Regions from separate parts of the Homo sapiens genome. Here regions 2, 3 and 4 are each linked to region 1. Evidence: promoter capture Hi-C in 16 types of primary human blood cells and fetal thymus (Javierre and others, 2016). All regions are on one chromosome and are shown on one strand. The core of a region is centred on a gene start or on the middle of the fragment in contact, and the rest is flanking DNA. Distances in the headings are between cores, read along the strand shown.

Region 1 (5,969 bases), core at 1,353-3,852:
GCTGGAGGGCTGGGCCGGGCCTGCAGAGTGAGGAAACGCGCCAGCTCCTTCCCCAAGTGTGACTTTTATAAATAAGCTCTCTTCGCCTCCTTCCAAATGTGGTGGTGTTGGGTGGGGGAGAAGGAGAAAGAAGAGGGAGGAGGAGGAGGAAGAGGGAGGGAGGGAGGGCTGGGAGCGGTGCACAGCCGCTGTCCCCAGCACCATCTCTGTTCAGCCCAGCCCAGCCCAGCCCGCCCCAGTCCAGCCCAGTCCAGCCCAGTCCAGCTCAGCCAGTGCTGGCCTCTTCCTTTCTGGGGATTCTGGGCTGAAAATTCTGACTCCTGGGGCTTCAGGCCTCCTACAAATGTGGAGCTGGAGTCAGGAGACCTGTAGCCCTGCTTCTCGTCCCGAGAAACTGAATTCTAGGCTTTCCCATCCCCACTTCACAGATGGGAACCCTAGGTCCAGAGGGAAAGCAGCCTGTGGGAACAGTGGCCCCACCAAGACTGACTGTCTCACCCCACCCCGGGTGGGCTCCTGCCTGCCAGCCGTCCACCTGTCTGCTAGAAAGCCCTCCCTGGGCAGGGCCACCCAGCAATGGGTACAGCCTCCCTGGGCTCTGAATGCCTTGTGTGGGGAGGGTGGGGGTGTCTGGAGCGGAAGCCTCAGACCATTCAAAGCAAAGCCTGGCTTCACCATCTAATCAGGGGGCGAGGAGGTAGTAACAGAGACAGACATCAGAGCAAAAAGATCTGGGTTCAAACGCTTCACAACCCCAGCTCCACTGGCTGTCCCCCAGTGTCAGCCAGGCCTGAGTCTGACTATCTTCAGGGATGAGGCAAAGCCCTTTTCTACCACCCCTCCCTCTAGCAGGCAAGCCGTGTTTCTTTTGTGCCTCAGTTTCCCCTTCAGCTAGGGGGATGAAGGCTGACATGCCAGAGGCTATTATCCTATGTAGGGGCCCATGGTTCCCCTGACCACTTGGTTCCCACACACACCCTCAGGTAACCTACCAGGCGCCTAAACATCAGCACATTACACCACACAGCCATCCGTCACCAGGAAAACACTCATTCTGACTCAACGGAGCTCAGGAAACTTGAGGGCAACCACAGGGGCCGCGGGGGAAGTGTTTAGAGCCCATATGCGACTTGAGGGACCATCTTCTTCCTTTGAAACCTCATGGGGTTTACACCAGGGGCTGGGCGCTCGGCCAGGAATAACAGGTCTGGAGGCAAAGTGGAGGCCGTGGTGCCAGAGCAAGTGGGGGACATGAAGGCAGGGGAGCCCAGGTCCCGGCTCCAGGATGCCCAGGAGGCAACCATGACATAATGGGGCAGACAGGCTCCAACTCAGGGAGCCTCTGGGTGGAGAAGACAAGCCGTGGGGTCAAATGCCCAAAGGACACTTGACATTTTCCATAGGAGGGGACCTTAGGGTTCTAGTTCCTAGCCCAGGGAGCGGGGTGGGGGGTGCTCCCAGGGATCAGCAGGCAGGGCTGCCAGCCAGGTGGCCAGCCAGGGGACCAGATGACCAGATGAGACTCAATCTAGTCTTGAGCCTTGATCCACCCCCCCTCCCCGACACACCCAGAGAGGCTTCATTTCCGTCGCTGTCCTCCACTCCCGGTCACCATCCTCCTGGGCTCCTCATCCCTAAGGGCAGAGGCCAGGGGAAGGGGACCCACGCAGGCTGCAGGGGTCTCTGGGCTGGGAGAAGGTGGGCTCTGACTCAGAACGTTTGTGCATCCTCCTACTCCCCCCAAACCCCGCCCCAGGAGCCACACCCCAGGGGTTTCCCAGATACAGGTAGAAAAATAGATCCAAGTCGCAAGGAACCCTGAAGGGTCTGGAAACGCCAGCCAGTGCTGCCCGAAAGCCCGAAGGTGGATAGGTGGACCGGGGGCGGGTGTGACGCCCCCCCCCCCATACCTGGGGCGGGCAGTGGATCCCTACTGCGACCAAGCAGAGGGGGAGCCACAGGTGATGGGAGCCACAGGTGACCAGGGTGGCCCGAGGAGGCCGCCACCACCCGACGATCAGGTTTCCGCAGCGCGCCCCGCAGCGGGGCCCCGCGCAGGGGACCGGCACCGGCCCACCGCGGTCCCCTCGTCTGTCTACACCAAGGAGGTTCCCACCGCGGTCCCCTCGTCTGTCTACACCGAGGGGGCACGGGAGGTCAGAGATGAGGGGCAGTGAGGGGGCCAGAGAAAGGGCCTGCTCTGCGGGAGGGGGAAGAGGTCCCGCCACCAAAACCCCATCATACCCTCCGAACCCCCCAAATCAAGAGGGCCCCGAAAAGTTTATCCAGGACCCCGGACTCCAGCCGACCGTCCACGTGTCAGCGCGGCCGAGCTCACGCGAGCCTGACCCCGAGTGGGTCCGAGGGGCGGAACCCGGAGGGGGGTCGAGGTCCCTGGCTCGCCCCGCTCCCTTCAGCCCTGGCTGGGGGCGCAGGAGCGGCCACCATCCTGGCCGCGGGAGCCGGGCGGGAAGTGTCCGGCGCGTTGGCGCTGGCGGCGGGCGGCGGGCGGCCGCGCGCTGGGGCCGGACTCACCGTGCGGAGCTCCTGGGTTCGGTCCTTCATGCTCCCGGGAGTGGCAGCGGCGCCGGCTGCAGCCGTGTGAGCCCCGCATGCGCGACGGCCGCCCCGCGGCTGCGCAGCGCCAGCCCGGCCCCGCCCCGGCCCCCGGGACCCCGGCCCCGCCCCACCCCGCCCGGGCCCCGCCCAGACCCCGCCCAGACCCCGCCCCACCCCGCACGAGCAGCCCCGTGGGGATCGAAGCCCTGGGGTCTCGTCCTGGACGTTCCGCACGCGTGATCGCTCCCGGGGATGGGTCCCCAGAGACCCTGCTGCCTCCTCTGCCCCAGCCCTGTCTCGTTTTTTATTTATTATTTTTGGAGACAGGGTCTCGCTCTGTCGCCCAGGCTGGAGTGCTGTGGTGCAATCATAGCTCACTGCAGCCTTGAGCTCCTGAGCTCAGGCAATCCTCCCGCCTCAGTCTCCTGGGTGGCTGGGACTAGAGTTGCTCGCCACTACTCCTGAATAATTTTCAAATATTTTGTAGAGACAGGGTCTTGCTATGTTACTCAGGCTGGTCTTGAACTCCTGTCCTCAAGCGATCCTCCCTCCTCCCAAAGCTCTGCGATTACAGGCGTGAGCCACCGTGCCTGGCTTCCAGCCTCTTCCCGACTTAGCAGCTCAGCATCCCTGTCCCAGAATCCGGTCCTCATCCTCAGATCCCTTCACTTCCCCAGAATTTGCTGAAGGTTGTAACTCCCTCCTTCATTTCATTACCTTGGGACCTCCTGCTCTCCCTTCTGTTCCCCAGCCAAAAACCTCCTGGAGAGTTCCAGTCTGGGAGCCTCCACCCTTCCCCCTTGCTCCCATCATCCAGTAGGGACTCAGGCACTGGCCTCTTCTTTCCCTAGGATTTCTCAGTTCACAGCTCTGATGCTGCGTGACCCACCCCTTTTTCCTGCAGGATGAAGGAACTCCTCTATCTTTTTATGTTTGTTTGTTTGTTTGATTATTTATTTATGAGATGGAGTTTCACTCTTGTCGCCCAGGCTGGAGTGCAGTGGCGCTATCTCAGCTCTGCCTCCTGGGTTCAAGCGAGTCTCCTGCCTCATCCTCCCAAGTAGCTGGGATTACAGGTGCCCACCACCACGCCCGGCTAATTTTTTGTATTTTTTAGTAGAGACAGGGTTTCACCATGTTGAGCAGGCTGGTCTCAAACTCTTGACCTCTTGATTCTCCCGCCTCGGCCTCCCAAAGTGCTGGGCTTATAGGCGTGAGCCACCGTGCCCGGCCTATTTTTTTTTTTTTTTTTTGAGACGGAGTCTCACTCTGTTGCCCAGTCTGGAGTGCAGTAGCACGATCTTGGCTCACTGCAACCTCCACCTCCCGAGTTCAAGCAATTCTCCTGCCTCAGCCTCCCAAGTAGCTTGAGATTACAGGCACCCACAACCACGCCTGGCTAATTTTTTTGTATTTTTAGTAGAGAAGGGGTTTCACCATGTTGTCCAGGCTGGTTTCGAACTCCTGACCTCAAGTGATCTGCCTGCCTCAGCCTCCCAAAGTGCTGGGATTACAGGTGTGAGCCACTGCACCCAGCCAGGAACTACTCTATCTTTGGGAAAGAGATTTGAGTTATGGCCCCCCTCTCCTCCTTTCCCTGCATCCCCAATCCTGAACTCTGGCTCTAGGCCTGAGGTTCTATTTTCTCTTTTTTCGTTTTTGTAAAGACGGGGTCTCCTCATGTTGCCCAGGCTGGTCTCAAAGTCCTAGCCTCAAGCGATCCTCCTGGCTTGGGCTTCCAAAGCACTGGGATTACACTTGGCCAATGTAGGTTCTATTTTCTATCTAGAAGCCTGGGGCCTGGCTTCCTCTAGGACTCATGGGAAAACCTGTGGAGGAGTGGGAGTGGGGAGGCCAGTCAACAGCAGATGTTCTTTTGAAGGTCCCTGCCAGCATCTTGTTGCAACAGTGGTCTCGCACACACCCCCATAAGCCCGCTGTGCCCTCCACCACCCCCAGCTGTCACTTCTGTGGCCCACACCCTCTTGACCTGAAGCCAAGCACATCCCTTCCCTTCCCCAGGACTGCCAAAGCATTGGAGCTCTGGAGCCAATCCAGCCCCCTGCTGCCCAGTGTGTCTGGGCCTGGCACCTCTCCCAGACTATGGGCACAGGTTAGCTGGCTGCCAGGCAAGCTAGGGACACTGTTCCAGCTTTCCCTTCTTCCCTGGAAAATCTGGCCCAAGACGGTCCGATGTGGCCTGGCAGAGGGAACAGCCACACCCTGTTCCAGTTGTCCCGGCTTCAACTTTGGGTGCCCTGCAGAATGGGCATTGATGGCGCCCCACTTCACAGAGGAAAAGTAAGGAGGTAAGTGCTAGAGGAACTTGCCCAGAGATGACAAGTGACAGGGGAGTCTGCCTGACTCCTGGTCTAGCCTGCAGGGTGAGTCAGTGGGGTGGGTCACAGGTATGCCCCCAGAGCCCAGTGTCTGGCCCCTTAGGGAGAGGGCAGGAAAGGGAGGCTCAGCTCCTGCCCTCTGAGAGCCCTGGTGTCACACCAAGCATCACTCATTGAGACGCATATTAAATAGTAGCATGAAAAATGAATAAAGAAATAAATGTGGCCAGGCACAGTGGCTCATGCCTGTAATCCAGCACTTTGGGAGGCCCAGGAGGGAGGATTGCTTGAGGCCAGGAGTTTAAGACCAGCCTGGACTCCATCTCTTAAAAAAAAAAAAAAAGTGTGCCTTTCACTTCTTTTTTTTGTTTGTTTGTTTTTTTAAGGCTGAGTCTCTTTCTGTCACCCAGGCTGCAGTGCAGTGGTGCAATCCAGGCTCACTACAACCTCCACCTCCCATGTTCAAGTGATTTTCCTGCCTCAGCTTCTTGAGCAGCTGGGATTACAGGCACCCGCCACCACGCCCAGCTAATTTTTGTATTTGTAGTAGAGATGGGGCGTCACCATGTTGGCCAGGCTGGTCTTGAACTCCTGACCTCAAATGATCTACCCGCCTTGGCCTCCCAAAGTGCTGGGATTACAGGTGTGAGGCACTGCACCCGGGCTTGCCCTTCTCTTTAAACTCTGTTTTTCTGCTAAGTCTTTTCCTCATTTAATCATTCATTCATTCATCAAACATTAAATGGGAAACCATGCTCTGGGGCCACTGTTCTGCACTCAAGATGTTCCCACTGCAGTGGGGGAGACAGACATGGTTTTGGTAGGTGAGGGAACCAGGGTGGCTTCCCAGAGGTGGTGACATTCGAACAGGGTGTTGCAGTGGGATTGCAGCAGGGAGTGGACAAAGGAAGGATGCTGGGGCAGGGGTGGGGGTGGGGAGCTCTCTAAAATGGAGCACTCTACCGGGAGCACCTCAGGAGCCTGCTGTGGCACTTGGGTGGACATAGGTGGGGGATGAGCCCAAGGAAGGGGGAGGCCTTGGATGCTAAACTATTGTGCAGAAAAGGGAAG
Region 2 (5,969 bases), core at 1,494-3,993, 250 kb before region 1:
CAATGCTAAAGAGAAGTAAGATGTGAGGAGTAAGATGAAAACCTCTTACCTCTTCTCTAGTCTCTCTTTAAGTTGACTTTCTCTTATTCCCTGAGGGTGAAGACAGTTTAGCAACTCATCCAGCTCCTTTTGACTATCACATAAAAACCTGTAGGGGCAAAAGAGACCTGATAACTCTGAAAAAAAAAAAAAAATTCAAAATCAAACACTAAGCAAGGGATCTAGAGTTGGTGGTGGGACTTGGGAGAACAGAATTCCAAATGTGTTCACAATCTACTATCTAGAAGTAGAATAAGTAATTTACTATTTTCATGATGCCTAATGTTAATTCTGTACTAGGACACCAGAGCCAATATGGTTCCTATTAAAATATTATATGAAATTTTATAAAGTTAATTGGCATACTTGTCCCTTTCCCTCCAGAGAGTAAACCTATACCCAAAATTCAAAAATGAAAGGTCATTAAATCACAGGTGATCACAGTTAAAGCCGTAGAATGGATCCTCTAAAACCTAGCTCGCTGCCTAAAAGCAGAAATGCGCATAAAGGAAACGAATAGCTATGCATACAATTTGTTAATTAATAAAATTTAAGGAAAATCTTAAATACTTCTATTCCCAACCAAATTTAAGCTACATTTCTACTGCTATATAAGATCTATCACATAATATACAAAGTTATATTACAGGGGGGAAAAAATCAAAATTCCAACCCTTAAAAAAACAAGTATCTTCTTAACAAAAAATCAGGTCTGCTAATGCAAGAAGTTTTGATATCCAAAATATCAGTCACACAAAGTATCCTGCGCAAATAATTATTAACTCACTGGCATCACTATACTAAATACTTTCTTCCTTAACAATTAAAAGGAAAAAGAAAGAGCAACCAGATGAATGCTCACATTACCATAGGTTCTGTCCTTGTTTGGGTGTGGTTGTCTCTACAGCAACTTCTGTTGCTGTTCCATGTTGTGTGTTCATGCTTGCATTTTTACCTAAGTTTGCTTTCTTACCTAAGAAAAATTGAGACATTAGGTTGACTTTAGTAAATACCCAATTGCTAGTTTCAAATCTAAGCAGTACACAGTGCCAAACTCAACAATTTGTAACAACACAGATACTTCCTGTGAAATATATCAAATATATCTTCATGTATAAAAGATGCTAATTTCTCTTAAATATCTTAAACACAGCATGTTATCTCAGATATTTGCTCTCTGAAGTGGAATCGTTACACAGTTCCAAAGTTTAGGGGTACTGCAACTTAGAATGAAGAATGACTAAATATCTTTATATCAAAGCAAAATAAAGAATTTACTCCTTTTACATGATGTTAAGAGCAAAGGCATCTGTAGTGAAGCAGAGGTAATGAGAACATATAAATACTATAGACTTATCCTTGGAGGCTTCAAGTGTCAAATAATACAACTAACTTTTTTGTAAATCAGTTCCTATATACTGATACGTGACTTTAACATAGATATATCTTGAGCCAATTTATCAAAGCCTATCTTAGATCATCACAATATTTGGTTTTTTGTTTTGTTTCGTTTTGTTTTTTGAGATAGAGTCTCGCTCTGTCGCCCAGGCTGGAGTGCAGTGGTACAATCTCAGCTCACTGAAACCTCTGCCTCCCAGGTTCATGCAATTCTCCCTGCCTCAGACTCCCGAGTGGCTGGGATTACAGGCACACACCAACACACCTGGCTAATTTTTCTATTTTTAGTAGAGATGGGGTTTCACCATGTTGGCCAGGCTGGTCTCCAACTCCTGACCTCAGGTGATCCGCCCGCCTTGGCCTCCCAAGTGCTGGGATTACAGGTGTGAGCTACCACGCCCGGCCAGTCACCACAATATTTGAAGCCTTACCTCATACTATGATTGTTTATCTTCTCTTTCCCATTCTCCCCACTTTAACCTGAAACATCTCTGCAATACTAACACATAACTTTGTTTAGTCTTTTCAATTGGGTAATTTATTTATTTTTTTTAATTTTTTGAGACAGAATGTTGCTCTGTCACCCAGGCTGCAGTGCAGTGGCGCAATCTTGGCTCACTGCAACCCCTGCCTCCTGGGCTTAAACAATTCTCTTGCCTCAGCCTGCCAAGTAGCTGGGATTACAGGTGCCCGCCACCACACCCGGCTAATTTTTGTGTTTTTTGTAGAGACGGGGTTTCGCCATGTTGGCCAGGCTGGTCTTTTAACTCTTGAGCTCAAGTGATCCGCCTGCCTCAGCCTCCCAAAGTGCTGGGATTATAGGCATCAGCCACTGCATCCAGCCTCAGTTGGGTAATTTTAAATAAAAACTGCCATTCTAGAACTGGAAAACACGAAACAACATCCACCAGGATGCTCTAGAAGTGAAGGGTCTGGCTCCCCAATCTTGTCTCGGGGACACATTATAAAGTAACACTCCTTCATCCCACTGGAATCTCTTCCAAATCTAAACATCCAGGCTCCACAGTTACTGCTCTCAAACCTAACTGCCCTCACCTGAGTATTTATGAAGTCTAACGAAACCAGATTCTTCTATAAAGTGACATAATCTATGCTCGATATAATTCAACATGCAAACACCTTAAATCTGAAGTTTTATTTGAAGGAATGTTTATTTTTGTAAATCAGTATTATTCTTATTTAACAATTTTGTGAGTTTCAAGCTTGAGTTAGGAATTTCTCTAAAATGAATTACTTTTTAAAAAATAAAGATTTATCGAAGAAGCACAATAACCTAGTACTCAGGAAGCAACTTCTTTTATTTCTTTATCTCCCACATGACACCAACACATAAGCAATTTTCATTAGGTTACAGACAGCAGAGCTGAAAGAAGCTTATGGATCATTTAACCTAGTGGTTCTCGAAAGGGAGCACTGCTGCCTGCCACATGTATCTGGCAGGATTTAGAGACATACTTGGTTTTCACTGCTACCACCTAGTGGGTAGAGGGGAGCTCCCGAATAACCTATAATGCACAGGACAGCTCCCAGTACAAAAAACTATCTTCCTCATCAGTGTCATGGTGGGAGGAAAAAAAAAAAGATTCATCTAGCCCAAAATGTCAGTAACACTGAGGTTGAGAAAACCTGACCTAACCTAACCATCTTATTTTTTTAATTAAAATTTGTTTTATTTCTTTCTTGAAATATACTCAATACATACACTTTAAGAAAGAATATGGATATATATTCAGAAAACTATTCAGTGTGTGTTTCTTTTACAAACTGAACACATATACCCGGCACCCAGATCAAGAGAAAGAATATTACCAGTGTCCCTACATGATCCCCTCTCAGTCACTCATTTTTCGTTAGGTATTTGCCATGTTTCTCCTCACAAGAATTTTAAGAACCTTATCTGTCTTGTTTGCTGCTATACCCCTAGCGTATGACAAACTGCTTCACAAATAGAGATTCAGCATAAACACTGAATAAATTAATTTTAAAAGTAGAAGAAGAGGGTCAGGTGCAGTGGCTCACACTTGTAATCCCCAGCACTTTGGGAGGCCGAGGTGGGCAGATCACCTGAGGTCAGGAGTTTGAGACCAGCTTGGCCAACATGGCGAAACCCCGTCCCTACAAAAAATACAAAAATTAGCCAGATGTGGTGGCACACACCTGTAGTCCCAGCTACTCGGGAGACTGAAGTAGGAGAAGTGTTTGAACCCAGGAGGTGGAGGTTGCAGTGAGCCGAGATCACGCCATTGCTCTCCAGCCTGGGCAACAAGAGTGAAATTCCGTCTCAAAAAAAAAAAAAAAAAGAAGAAGAAGAAGAGGACATCTAACACTGCCCTTCTTAGACCCCATACCTCAATTTCAGCCCTTGAGGCACCTACAAAGGCTTCCAAGGGACAAAGTTTGAAAACTGCTCCTATAAAAGCTAATACCCAAATATCCTCATATTCAAGCTCTTCATCTTCTCACACTATGCTTAGAACAAAGGTGGTAATCAAACGTGGGTTTCTCTCCTTCTTTCTACACATTTCACATCTACCTACTTCACTCAAATAGATCTAAGACCACAATAAAGAAATTCTGCAAATGGAAAACGTGACAGAGGAAAAGCAGTCCTTAATGTTGAGCCCACTTGAGCAGGGTGAAATAACTCTTAGATATACAGATATACTCACTGCGAGGACAGTAATCCTCATCACCAGAGACTGTGTGGTCTTTGCAGTGATGGTTGAATCGGTAGTCAATGCTGTCATGTACCCAGCCTTTTTCAATGAATAATCCTGGAACTTCATCTGAGAAGAGCCAGTATCTACAAATCACAACCAGTATTAATAAGACAGTGAATAGATCAGGATTGCAGGATGATTTTACTGCTGGAGAAGATAATACAGAGTATCACTGAGCATTCAAAACCACAGTTTACAGAATTCTTCCTCTTCAGAACTCTAGACAGATAAAAATTGCAAGGTAAATCAAAGTATACGAGAAATGTTGAAACTGGAGACTAGCTTAATGTTCGTAATTTGTATAATTTCTTTCTTTTTTAAATTGAAATGGGGTCTCGCTATGTTGGCCGGGCTGGTCTTGAACTCCTGGCCTCAAGCAATCCTCTCGACTCAGCCTCCCAAAGTGTAGGATTACAGGTGTGAACCACCACGCCCAGCCCTAATTTGTGTAACTACTAATATTTCTCCTTTAGGTTTCACAAAATGTATGTATTTAAAACCTACTGCCATTTTTAAAGACTTGGATTACATTTCACCTATCACCATCATGTAAGCTTCCTACTTGTGGTATATGCAAGGGCAGGAATATGTCTTACTTAACTTTGCAACTCTAGCATTTGGCAGTTAATATTCAATAATCATCAACAATTCTGTTTCCAAAAAGAATTGGAAAACTGAAGAGAGAAGCTTGTCTATTCTTGTACTTTAGAAAATTTTCCTAACTAATAGCAATGTAAATAGTCCTAAAGAAAACAAAAATTTGGTTTAGGAACTGACCTATTATGGTTTCGATCTGTGCCAATAGGAGTCCTGCGCATGACTAGTTTGGCCTTGGCAATCCCTTCCTGGAAAGCTTTCTCAGCAGCTGCTTTGTGCTTCCGTATTCGTTCTTCTTCAGCTTGGCGTTCCAGTTTCACTGTTAAAAATAAAAAGACTCAAATCAGATATTTTCCTAGTAAATCCCACTCTTACAAATTAAATAAAATATGGAGTAAAAAGTGCCTAGTATACAGTAGTTATCAAATCTTAGTTTGCTTTCTCTAATTCTAATCTGTTACAAGAAATTACATGTAAGGCAGCAACATCTAGTCCTCCTACACTCCTTGAATTTGTGGTGACATCTCATCCCTCAACTCAATGCAAAATCTTTTATCTCCAAAATATCACTTCTTTTTGTTTTTGTTTTGAGGCAGAGTCTTGCTCTGTCACCCAGGGTGGAGTGCAGTGGTGCGATCTCGGCTCACTGCAACCTCTGCCTCCTGGGTTCAAGCAATTCTCCCGCCTCAGCCTCCTGTGTCGCTGGACTACAGGCACACACCACCGTGTCCAGCTAATTTTTACATTTTTAGTAGAGACGGGGTTTCCCCATGTTGTCCAGGCTGGTCTCGAACTCCTGACCTCAACTGATCCACCCGTCTCGGCCCCTCAAAGTGCTGGGATTATAGGCGTGAGCCACCACACCCAGCCAAAATATCACTTCTTAATATATTTTAAACAATCCTGAAGAAACAGTTAACAGTCCATAAATAGGACTAACTGAAACATCTTCTGACAGGTGCACCTACAGGATCCTCAAAAAGATCACGATAAATCAAACTAGTAAAATAACTATTTCAAAATAAAACATATTTCAGTCCTGAGGAATCTGACAGTAATTTGGCTTAATAGCCCTGATGACAAGAAAACAAACCTGAAAAGCAACAGCAGGGACGCACTTGTGGATAATAATTATTTTACATTGAACACCTATTTTTCTAATTATTCTGCAAGTTACTGTTAATGATAAAAATT
Region 3 (5,969 bases), core at 956-3,455, 230 kb before region 1:
ATGAGGTGGGAGGACTGCTTGAGCCAGAAGTTCCAGGTTACAGTGAGCTATGATCATTCCACTGCTCTCTAACCTGGGAGACAGCATAAGGCCTACCTCAGAAAAAAAAAAAAAAAAAGAGAGAGAGAATGATAAACAAATATGATAAATGTTAACATCTGAGGAAATCTAATTAAAGAGTACACAGAAATTTGGTAGTGTTTTGTCAATTCTCCTGTATAAAATTATTTAATAAAATATTAAAATGTGTTAAGAACAAGGCTAAATTCATGCAGGATTCCAAATGCCTTAAAGTATTATTTTCTTCTTACATCTCTAATCCAAAGGCTTCCCTACTAGGATTTATCAGTCTAAAATAAGAGCTCAAACATGATGGAGACTAACAAAATAGGGCTGCAATGTATTACAAGAGGAAAATGAGCTAGAGATTTCATCTTAGATGACAGTTATCACCCAATTGCCTTGTAAATCATTCCTCCAAGTCATTGGGCCTACAAAAAATTACGCTGCCCCTAAAGCCCAAATGTCAGTGGCATTTTTCTCCAACAAATGGAACTTCAAGAAATGAATAGCCAGTTACCTATTATATGCAACATACTATGCTAAACGTTACAAGATATAAAATAAGCAAGGTAGTTCTTATTCTCAAGTAATTTATATTCTACAAAGATTTTAGAAAACCACAAACACACCCTCATCATCATATTAGGTACTCAGGTAACAATCCAAAATTCCTGTATCTTTACATAATTTTCCTCTCTCCCACGTAAGCCCTCACTATGGGTCCTTTGGTAAAACTATTTTATTTATTTATTTATTTGAGACAGAGTCTCACTTTGTTGCCCAGGCTGGAGTGCAGTGGCGTGATCTCGGCTCACTACAAGCTCAGCCTCCCAGGTTCATGCCATTCTCCTGCCTCAGCCTCCCGAGTAGCTGGGACTACAGGTGCCCGCCACCACGCCCGGCTAATTTTTTGTATTTTTAGTAGAGACGGGGTTTCACCATGTCAGCCAGGATGGTCTCGATCTCCTGACCTCGTGATCCGCCCAACTCGGCCTCCCAAAGTGCTAGGATTACAGGCGTGAGCCACTGCGCCTGGCCTGCTAAAACTATTGCTCAGAACTCACTCTCTTTACACCTGGTCTCACTCTACAGTAAATGTACTCAGAGCCTGACAGAACATTACATTCTACAAAAACCAAAGAGTATACAGAGAGAGAAAACATCCCATGCCTTTGGATGGATGGGTCCTATGTGATCAACTTTAATCCTCAACAGATTATTTTAAATTTCTTCTAGAAAAAGAAAGAAAACAAAGCAATGTTTTAGGTTCTACTTATCATCTGTGTTACTATGTTTTGCCCTGGCTGAGAAGCCAAAGTCCTAATTTTATAAATAGGAAAAACACAGCTTATATACAGAAAACAATCAGTGACATGTCAGATAGTATTAGGAAATAAGAAATTATTGTTTAAGGTAGGGAAAACAAATAATAAACCTGAGTATATGCCTTTAACTTTGTAGACCAGTATTTTACATGAGTCTTAAGTTTTCTGAGTAAAATCACTGCCATCTTCCAGCACTTTAAGCAAGCTTCCATTTCCTAGTCTTAACCTAAATTATAGCCAAATTTCATAACATTAGTAAGTTAAGCCCCCACTAGAAATTCTGGGAGAAGCTTATTTCTTCAGAAATTGCCTTTCAGGTTTTAAGTTCCTGGAGTTCTAGTCTCTCTCTCCTACAAAAATTGTGGATCAGCTGGGCGTGGTGGTACGTGCCTGTAGTCCCCAGCTACTAGTGAGACACAGGGAGGAGGATCACTTGAGCCCAGAAATTTCAGGCTGCAGTGAACTGTGATTGTCCCACTGCACTCCAGCCTGGGTAACAGAGCAAGACCCTGTCTCTAAAGTAAGAAATAAGTGTGGATCAGCTTTTATGTCTTAGGAAACTCAAAAAATATTTTACCCATAAAAAGAGTCTTTCACATTATTCACATACTTGAATCACTAAACTAAAATACATAAAACAGAGCTGTAAGATTAGAAAAGAGGAAAATATTAAGGACTCAAGTAATCCAAGAATTAGTCTAAAACCCATTTAGAGATGGTTTCATGGAGTTCTCATATAGCGAAGATAGGAATCTCATGTGAAGACCACAGAAAGCTGAATCATGGTTCCAAACTCTGTGGCAACAAAATGACAGTGAACTCAAAATTTCTCCTCAACAAACAAAAACAAACATCTGAGAAAAAAATTATAGTTCCATGGAAAATTTAGTCCTGATCTAGAAAAAGCCAATTACTTTCTAAATTTTTCCTTTTAAGCAAATAATAATAATTTAAAGAGCATAACAGAAGACACCACTTATCTTGCTGGTCTAGAATAAGAAAATCTGCTAAGTGCTAAAACCATGACTGGAGGTCTTTACTAATGTTTTGGAGAAATAAAATTACTTTTCAATATGCTTTTGTCACCATAATCAACTTAAGATAATTGAACAAATTTAGTTGTTATGACTTCAGATGTCTTTATATTTTCATAATTAAATGAAATGGGAAAAAAAGAAATCCTGGAAATGTGACCTAGTTTTAATGGATCAAGAGCCCTTTTCTGGTTCTACGCTGGCCCAGAGACCAAGATGAAAATTATCAGCCAGTATGCTGCGTTACATTTACCAATGAAAGAAGCATTAAGTACTTTCAAAACCTACATTAAAAAACCACTTTAACAGGTAAAGCTTGAAATGGAAAAGAAAATCAGAAATCCTAGGCCAGTGTCTTAAGTCTTGTCATCACTTTCTGTTGGTTCTGATTAGACTAGGCCTCAGATACCCCATCTGTAAAATGAAATATATATATGTACCATATAACTTCATAAAAATATTTGGAAAATCAAAAGTGAGGATTTTAAAAATTACTCCTTCTCGGCCAGGCATGGTGGCTCACATCTGTAATCCCAGCACTTTGGGAGGCCGAGGCAGGCGGATCACTTGAGGTCAGGAGCTCAAGACTAGCCTGGCCAACACGGCAAAACCCCATCTCTACTAAAAATAGAAAAATTAGCCAGGTGTGGTGGCACATGCCTGTAATCCCAGCTACTCAGGAGGCTGAGAAGAAGGAGAAGGAGGTTGCAGTGAGCCGAGATCGCACTACTGCACTCCAGCCTGGGTGACAGAGCGAGACTCCAACTCAAAAAAAAAAAAAAAACAAAAAAAACTTACTCTTCAAGAGGAAAATACTAGGTTTTCCACTAATCTATCACACACACTGCTCCTCATTCCAGGTTCTTTTCAAGGCTGCCACTGTATGTGATCATCTTGTCCGACATGCAAAATCAGTTTTCATTCTTGGTAACTGGTTAACAAAATACTTTTTATATTTATACCATACCTCATTCCAAAAAGGGTCTGAGGCACAAAAGCACATGTATATAGACTTTTAAAATTATGCTAGCATAATAAAAAATAAATTGAACTGGGGAAGATATTAAATGTGGCCTCTCCCCTACCAACCTCACATAACAACCTGTATGTAACAGATATACCTGAAAAATTTTTAATTCATTATCTGATGTTAGAGTTCAAAACCTGCTATAAATATAAATATACTGGAGCCATCAGAGAAATAATGATGCTTTATCCTGCTGTCCAAAAATTAACAGTGACCTTACCTTGTATGGATCAAGTAAAAAGTCACTGAACTTGCTGGGCAGAGAGTATTTCTTCACCAATTCATCTTCTACGACCCAAGGTGCATTTTCACCAGTACCAGCTCGTAATGCATTATGCCGTATAAAGTATCGAACTATCTCCTTATTTGGTGGGCGCTCTGTACGAATCAAGCTGTCTGCTGGCACGTTACTGATGATCTAGGTTAAAAAGAAACAAATAACTCACCACTGGGGTAAAAAGTAATTACCCAAATGAGAACAAGCAATATACGTTCTCTCCAGAAAAATCAAAATTCCATCTATATCAACAGGGCTACAAATTAGAAAGAAAAATATATAGGCCAGGGATGGTTTCTTACACTTGTAATCTCATCAACTCAGGAGGCCAAGGTATAAAGATTGTTTGAGGCCAGGAGTTACAGATCGACCTGGGCAATATAACAAGACCCTCTGTGTACAAAAATCAAAATACGCCAATAGTCCTAGCTATTTGGGAGGCTGAAGCAGGGGAATTACTTGAACCCAGGAGTTCGAAGCTATAGTGAGCTATGGTCACACCAATGCACTCTAGCCTGGGCAACAGAGTGAGACCCTATCTGAGAGACAGAAAACGGAGAATAATTTTCAGAGACAGAATGTCAATTTAAAAATATCCTTAGGCAATATGTCAATATGTATCAAAGTTTTCTAAAAATATGTATACCCTTTCAGCAATTCCTCTCGTTAAGAATTTATCTTAGGAAGTAAATGGACAAAGTTGTCATCAAATGCTTGTAATAGCAAAAAAGTGAGGAATGGGTTGAGAGTTATTACCTAAAGGTACACCAATAAGGGATTTGTTAAATGAAACTATGTACATATAATGGACACTGCAGTCCTATGAAAAAACTTTCTCAATCCAGAAAAATTCATCAGAATCATCTAGGGTACTATTAAAATGCAGATGTTTGGGCCTCACCACACACTTAATGAATCTTATGACTCTCTGGCAGTAGAGGTTAGGAATCAACATATCTAATCACCTCCCCTGGTGACTATCACACACATTAAAATCTGAGAACACTGTTTTGGAAGAAAATTTAATGACATTACAGATGTTTAGCACACAATAAATGAAAAAATTAAGTTATAAAATAATATAAACAGAATAGTTCTACTTTTAAAAGTCACTTAATAGCAGGAAACAGAGAAGGAAGGAATACAAAAAAATTTTTTTTAAAAAGTCACTTAGGAGCTACCTACCATTCACTAAATCTATATTCACCAATTATCTCTGAGCATGACATCAGATACTATCTCTTTCTTATTTGCATTTTCTTTCTTCCTGTAACCAATACTTATATTTGTGAACAAAATACTTATACTCATCAATATGAATACAAGGGATACTTAGGGAAGTGGTTAAAACTAAGCATTTTTTTTTTTTTTTGAGATGGAGTTTCACTCTTGTTGCCCAGGCTGGAGAGCAATGGCGCAATCTCTGCTCACTGCAACCTCCGCCTCCCTGGTTCAAGCTATTCTCCTGCCTCAGCCTCCCTAGTAGCTGGGATTACAGGCATGTGCCACCACGCCCGGCTAATTTTGTATTTTTAGTAGAGATGGGGTTTCTCCATGTTGGTCAGGCTGGTCTCGAACTCCCGAGCTCAGGTGATCCACCTGCCTCGGCCTCCCAAAGTGCTGGGATTACAGGCATGAGCCACCGTGCCTGGCCTAAAACTAGGCATGTCTTAATCAGCTACCTTGCTGAATGAGAAGAAACTCTGTGAAAAATTGTATTTAACAATATCCAATATTCAAATATAAAAAAATCCTGGCCAGGTGCAGTGGCTCATGCCTGTAATCCCAGTACTTTGGGAAGCCGAGGCAGGCGGATCACAAGGTCAGGAGTTCAAGACCAGCCTGGCCAACATAGTGAAATCCCGTATCTACTAAAAATACAAAACTTAGCCGGGCACGGTGGCGGGCACCTGTAATCCCAGCTACTTGTGAGGCTGAGGCAGGAGAATCGCTTGAATCCGAGAGGCAGAGGCTGTAGTGAGCCAAGACCGTGCCATTGTACTCCCGCCTGAGCGACAGAACAAGACTCCGTCTCAAAAAAGACAAAAAAACAAAACAACAACCTAGGCCGGGCGTGGTGGATCACGCTTGTAATCCCAGCACTTTGGGAGGCCAAGGGGTGGTAGACCACCTGAGGTCAGGAGTTCGAGATCAGCCTGACCAACGTGGTGAAACTCTGTCTCTACAAAAAACACAAAATTAGTCAGGCATGGTGATGCATGCCTGTAATCCTAGCTACTTGG
Region 4 (5,969 bases), core at 1,921-4,420, 180 kb before region 1:
CTGGCACGCAACTCTAATGCTTGTTTTCTCCCTTCCCTCTGTGAAAGGGGAAACTATAATCATTCCTAAGCTATCGAGAAAGGGCTTGGTGCTGCCTGGCTCTGAGGTGCTCTCTCGAGCCTGTTACTCTAAAGACGAGACACAACAAGAGCAGAAAGCAAGGCCCTTCTAGGAAACTCATCCTCGGCCAACCACGACTCACCCTCCAGGATCTCCTGGCCCAGCGTTGGGGGCTGGGAGTCATCCGTGCGGAAGTCGGAGGTGTGTGCTGGGCTCAGGGACTCACTCTGCTGGGGGCTGGGGCTTGAGTTGGTGCTGCTGTCCACCTTAAGCTGATAGACGTCAGACACGGAACTCTGGTTGCTGTTTTCGTCTGAAAACCAAACAGAACAAAGGCAGCAGCTGAGCGTGGTCATTTTCCTCAAGAGGAACTCTGGACAGAGCCAAGGGCCTGGCATCACTTTAGGCAGCCAAGGATACAACTGAGTATAATAATCATTGTGCCCGGCCTACACGACATAGATTCTAAGCACCAGAGGCAGCCAGAATCTTTATGTTTATGCAACATTACACTTTAGGAAGGTCAGGATATGCTTATTAAACTCTTCTTTATTATCCACTGATTGCAGCTTGTGGAAGGGAGGGATGTAGCTGTGTCTCTGGTCAGTACTTCTCAATCCTTCTCACATCATAAGATGTGTAGAAAATGACATTTGTCAGGCATCCTTGGGCATCTGAAGGAGGCTGGTGGTGTCTGAAGGTGGTGAGCTCAGGCTTCGGCTGCCGGACTGACGGATTAGCACCTGGGAGTTCTGCCTGAAGGCTTAAAGTCACCATCAAGGTGCAAAACTTAAGAGTTACCAGGCCGAGGCCAGGCACGGTGGCTCACGCCTGTAATCCCAGCACTTTGGGAGGCCGAGGTGGGCAGATCACAAGGTCAGGACATCGAGACCATCCTGGCTAACACGGTGAAACCCCGTCTCTACTAAAATTACAAAAAATTAGCCGGCTGTGGTGGTGGGCACCTGTAGTTCCAGCTACTCAGGAGGCTGAGGCAGAAGAATGGCATGAACCTAGAAGGCAGAGCTTGCAGTGAGCCGAGATCGCGCCATTGCACTCCAGCCTGAGCAACAGAGCGAGACTCTGTCTCAAAAAAAAAAAAAAAAAAAAAAAAAAGAGTTACCAGGCCGAGTGCAGTGGCTCACGCCTGTAATCCCAGCACTTTGGGAGGCCAAGGTGGGCGGATCACTTGAGGTCAGAAGTTTGAGACCAGCCTGGCCAACATGGTGAAACCCCGTCTCTACTGAAAATACAAAAATTAGCCGGGCATGATAGCACGCGCCTGTAATCCCAGTTACTTGGGAGGCTGAGGCAGGAAAATCGCTTGAACCCGGGAGGTGGAGGTTGCAGTGAGCTGAGATCGTGCCATTGCACTGTAGCCTGGGTGACATGGCGAGACTCCGTCTCAAAAAATAAAAATTAAAATTAAAAAAAAAGAAAAAAAGTAAGAGTCACCAATGCATTCCTCCGCTGCACCTACAGTAGCCAGTCACCAAAGTGTTTCCCCCTCCTGCTCTGGTATCATTTGTGCTCATTCCTTCCTCTCCTACTGCTTCAGTTCAAGCCTCATCATCTCCAGCCTGGCCTCCTGCAACAGCCACATACCTCACTGCCCTGCCTCCAGTCTCACGTACCTTAAACTGAACTGCAAACCACTGCCAGAGAGACCTTTCTAAACCCTTCGACGCTCCACTGCTGCCTAAGGGAGAAATGTCATACCCAGTACTTTTTTTTTTTTTTTTTTTGAGACCGAGTTTCGCTCTTGTTGCCCAGGCTGGAGTGCAATGGTGCTATCTCAGCTCACCACAACCTCTGCCTCCTGGGTTCAACTGATTCTCCTGCCTCAGCCTCTTGAGTAGCTGGGATTACAGGCTTGCGCCACCACGCCTGGGTAATTTTGTATTTTTATTAGAGACGGGGTTTCACCATGTTGGTCAGGCTGGTCTCGAACTCCTGACCTCAGGTAATCCACCTGCCTCAGCCTCCCAAAGTGCTGGGATTACAGGCATGAGCCACCACGCCCAGCCATACCCAGTACTTCTTAGGAGAGGCAGGAGCTGGCCTTATCGCAACATAGGAAGTCCTTTCTGATCTCTGGCCTCAGTGCCTACTGTTCTCCTACAAGCATCCTCAGCTCCAGGCAGACTGGACCCTAACCCAAGAGCTTCGTCATGCATGGGTGCTTCTGCCCAGCTGTTCCTTGGCTAGGCTGCCTTCTCTTGTCCTGGAAAGCCTCAGACCTCCCAACACAGCCCCGACATCACTTCTTCCGCGGAGCCCTACCTCCCTGGCTCGCATAGGTGGAAATGCCCACCCTCTCTTACTCTCCTGTGATAGCCTGTGCACGCCTGCATTTATCATTTCGCACACGTGCTTCCTCCCATGAGCCTCTGTGGACAGGCTCTGTGGCTCACTTGTCCTTGACTCCCCAGTGCAACGCACGGTACCTGCATACAGTGGGAGTTCATTAAGTGTTTACTAAATGAAAAGGAGGAGATGGTGGCCAGACTGAGGAAATGGAGCCTCATATGTCTCCCAGAGCCTTCTGACTACTGAACACACGTTGGTGTTCCCTTTCCAACAGCACATGGTTGACCTTGGTGGGGCCTGGGAAAGAGGTGGGGAAGGAATAACTACACGCTGGGTTAGCTCCAATCTGGTTTTGAAGAGAAAGTCATAAACTCATGCTAGTCTTGACTCCTATAAAGACCTTTAATACCCACACTAAAATGGAAGTAGCATTTTGTCACCAAATGAATAAAACTGTCACTTTTGAGCTTAGACAAAACACTGTTCCTCCCTGAGCATCAGTTTCCTTAAATAGGGATGATAATAACTGCCTGGTTTATATCACAGGCTGATACATGGGTAAAAATGAGAAAGTAAAGTAAAAGTGCTTCGTAGACAGTACCTAGCAGGTAGGTGTAAAAGGCAGTATCATGACTACGGTGATGATCCGGCGGGATTGGTTTAGGAGGCAGAACATGTCCTAACAGTGGGTAAGCAGAAGCTTCGGCTTTGGGTAGCCTACTCTAAGCGACTATGATAAAACATACAGTCTAGGCCAGGTGCAGTGGCTCATGCTTGTACCTTGGGAGGTCAAGGCTGGGGGACTGCTTGAGGCCAGGAGTTCACAACCAGCCTGGACAACATAGCCAGACTCTGTCTCTACAAAAAATAAAAAATAAAAAATGAAGTACAATCTAAAAAAAAGCTTCTGATTCGGACAACCAGGACCTGACATGGAGTCTGTCACTTACAAGTTATGTAACTTTAGACACGTAACTTAACCTCTCTGAGCCTCAGTTTCCTTAACTGGAAAATGAGAATACCATTACCTATCTTGCAGAGTTATCGTGAAGTTTAAATGAAAAGATTTAGGTCAAGTGCCTCGCAAAATACCAGCGAAACAGCAGGCACTGAATTGATACACAGAATTCTTTTTTTTTTTTTTTGAGACGGAGTCTCACTCTGCAGCCCAGGCTGGAGTGCAGTGGCGCAATCTCGGCTCACCGCAACCTCCACCTCCTGGGTTTAAGCGATTCTCCTGTCTCAGACCCCCGAGTAGCTGGGATTACAGGCACGCGCCACCACGCTCAGCTAACTTTTTGTATTTTTAGTAGAGACTGGGTTTCACCATATTGGCCAGGCTCGTCTTGAACTCCTGACCTCAGGTGATCTGCCCGCCTCAGACTCCCAAAGTGCTGAGGTTACAGGTGTGAGTCACTGCACCTGGCCAATTCTTCTTATTAATGCATTCATCCAAGTTTTCATTCTCCTGCAAGGAAGACACAGAGATGCAACTCACCCTGGAATTCAAGAAGGAGAGAGGAATTGGCTGAGGCATCAGAAGGAAAGCCATTAGGTTCTCGGGCTGCTGAACTGTTCGATTTTGACTTTTCTTTCTAGAAAAGGAAAAAAAGAGGAATATGACAGAGCCAAGCAGGAGACTCACAGAGAGGGAGGAGGGTGCTATGTGACAGACCACAGAGGTCTGGATTAGGACTGAACAGGAAAAACGACAGCAGCGTGAGAATCCAAGGACCCAAGGAAGAACAGAATCCTGGACAAGCAACTTCTCCTCAAGCCTCAGAAAAATGAACCCTTCCAGCAGGAATACTGTGAATCATAAGCAACAGGCAGATACATACACTTCGACTAGAACATCCCATAGTATCCCTCTCCTGCCCTGATCAAATTGCGCCAGGCAACCCTTCTCTATACGAATGGGCAAGAAATACAAAACACTCATTTGAGAAAGATTCCTGTTTCAGTAGCAGAGTGGGGAAAAAGTGAGAGAAGAAGGAACCTCATGTAACACAGACAGTGACAGGACAAATGGGCCCAGGCTGGCTCTATTCCTGATCCGTCATCCTCATCCATTCAAAACGACCACCCCAGCCGGGCGCACTGGTTCACGCCTGTAATCCCAGCACTTTGGGAGGCCAAGACGCATGGATCACCTGAGGTCAGGAGTTCAAGATCAGCCTGGCCAACATTGTGAAACCCTATCTCTACTAAAAATACAAAAATCAGCCGAGTGTGGTGGCATGTGCCTGTAATCCCAGCTACTTGGGAGGCTGAGGCAGGAGAATTGCTTGAGGTGGAGGTTGCAGTGAACCAAGATGGCACTACTGCACTCCAGCCTGGGCTACAGTGCGAGACTCCATCTAAAAAAACATAAAATAAAACAAAAAATAAAATAAATAAATAAATAAATAAATAAAAATACAAAAATGAGCCTGGCATGGTGGCATGTGCCTGTAATCCCAGCTACTCTGGAGGCTGAGACAGGAGAATCGCTTGAACCTGGGGGGTGGAAGTTGCAGTGAGCCAAGATTCTGCCACTTCATAACAGCCTGGGCGAAAGAGCGAAACTCCATCTCAAAAAGAAACAAACAAAAAAACCCAAAAAACAAAATGATCACCCCATGTTTATTTTTACCTATAACATTTGTTTCAAGAAAGATGTAGGTTATAAGTGCAGGGCAACCACAGTGGGCAGGTAAGCACCAGCTTGCAACAAGAAAGCCCAAGGGCCAGGCACAGTGGCTCATGCCTGTAATCCCAGCACTTGAGGAGGCGGAGGTGGGAGGATCCCTTGAGCCCAGGAGTTTGAGACCAGCCTGGGCAACATAGTAAGACCCCATCTCTACAAAAAAATAAAAAATGAGCCATGTATGGTGGCATAGGCTGGTGGTCCCAGCTACTGAGAAGGCTGAGGTGGGAGGATCGCTTGAGCCTGAAAGTTTGAGGCTGCAGTGAGCTATGACTGTGCACTCCAACCTGGGCAACACAGTTAGACCCTAACTCAAAAAAAAAAAAGCCCAGAGTAAATCCAAGCATATGAAAATGAGAGCATCCCAAAAGCCAAAAGTTTAAATCTGAGTAGCCTCAAATTTACCAGTTCACACTTTTTATACATTTCCGGTAGATGCATTATATTAGTAACGTAATTTTTGTTAATAACTCAATTTTTTGTTTGTTTTTTGAGACAGAGTCTTGCTCTGTCACCCAGGCTGGAGTGCCATGGCACAATCTCGGCTCACTGCAAGCTCCACCTCCCAGGTTCACGCCATTCTCTTGCCTCAGCCTCCCGAGTAGCTGGGACTACAGGCGCCCACTACCATGCCCAGCTAATTTTTTGTATTTTTTAGTAGAGATGGGGTTTCACCATGTTAGCCAGGATGGTCTCGATCTCCTGGCTCCAGGATGGTCTCAATCCGCCCGCCTCAGCCTCCCAAAGTGCTGGGATTACAGGCGTGAGCCATCGCACTCGGCCAAGGAAAGGGGGTTTTCTAGCAGCATCTACTCCTGTCTATACACAATGCCCAAGAGATTTAACTGCTTGACCTTTGACCCCTGTGGGTAATGGCCAGAGCCAGGCTGGATGGGGGAATAAACAGTTG

The links. The method cuts DNA at HindIII sites, captures the fragments that hold promoters and counts their contacts. A CHiCAGO score of 5 or more calls a contact.
Region 2: a contact is called between a fragment that was not itself captured here and the fragment with the promoter of STX1A in region 1, in 4 of 17 cell types (M2 macrophages, M0 macrophages, erythroblasts and 1 more). The highest score is 8.2, in M2 macrophages.
Region 3: a fragment that was not itself captured here is called in contact with the fragment with the promoter of STX1A in region 1 in 1 of 17 cell types (erythroblasts); the score reaches 5.9 in erythroblasts.
Region 4: a contact is called between a fragment that was not itself captured here and the fragment with the promoter of STX1A in region 1, in 1 of 17 cell types (total CD4 T cells). The highest score is 6.0, in total CD4 T cells.

Annotation. Positions count from the first base shown.
Region 1 is chr7:73,717,067-73,723,035 of GRCh38, forward strand. It overlaps STX1A (syntaxin 1A), which reads right to left and starts at 2,603. Exons shown (of 10, transcript NM_004603.4): 1 at 2,536-2,603. The coding sequence starts at 2,565. RefSeq lists silencers at 1,999-2,078, 2,189-2,248, 2,259-2,458, 2,519-2,718. The HindIII fragment of the contact is 14,118 bases long and covers 1-5,969 here.
Region 2 is chr7:73,465,390-73,471,358 of GRCh38, forward strand. BAZ1B (bromodomain adjacent to zinc finger domain 1B) reads right to left here. Exons shown (of 20, transcript NM_032408.4): 8 at 4,956-5,094; 9 at 4,128-4,261; 10 at 907-1,012; 11 at 50-148. Among named protein-coding and RNA genes, the nearest start is that of FZD9, 35 kb to the left of the region's middle. The HindIII fragment of the contact is 171 bases long and covers 2,659-2,829 here.
Region 3 is chr7:73,485,525-73,491,493 of GRCh38, forward strand. BAZ1B (bromodomain adjacent to zinc finger domain 1B) reads right to left here. Exons shown (of 20, transcript NM_032408.4): 6 at 3,670-3,867. Among named protein-coding and RNA genes, the nearest start is that of BAZ1B, 34 kb to the right of the region's middle. The HindIII fragment of the contact is 1,059 bases long and covers 1,677-2,735 here.
Region 4 is chr7:73,539,680-73,545,648 of GRCh38, forward strand. It overlaps BCL7B (BAF chromatin remodeling complex subunit BCL7B), which reads right to left. Exons shown (of 6, transcript NM_001707.4): 3 at 3,869-3,965; 4 at 203-373. Among named protein-coding and RNA genes, the nearest start is that of BCL7B, 15 kb to the right of the region's middle. The HindIII fragment of the contact is 204 bases long and covers 3,069-3,272 here.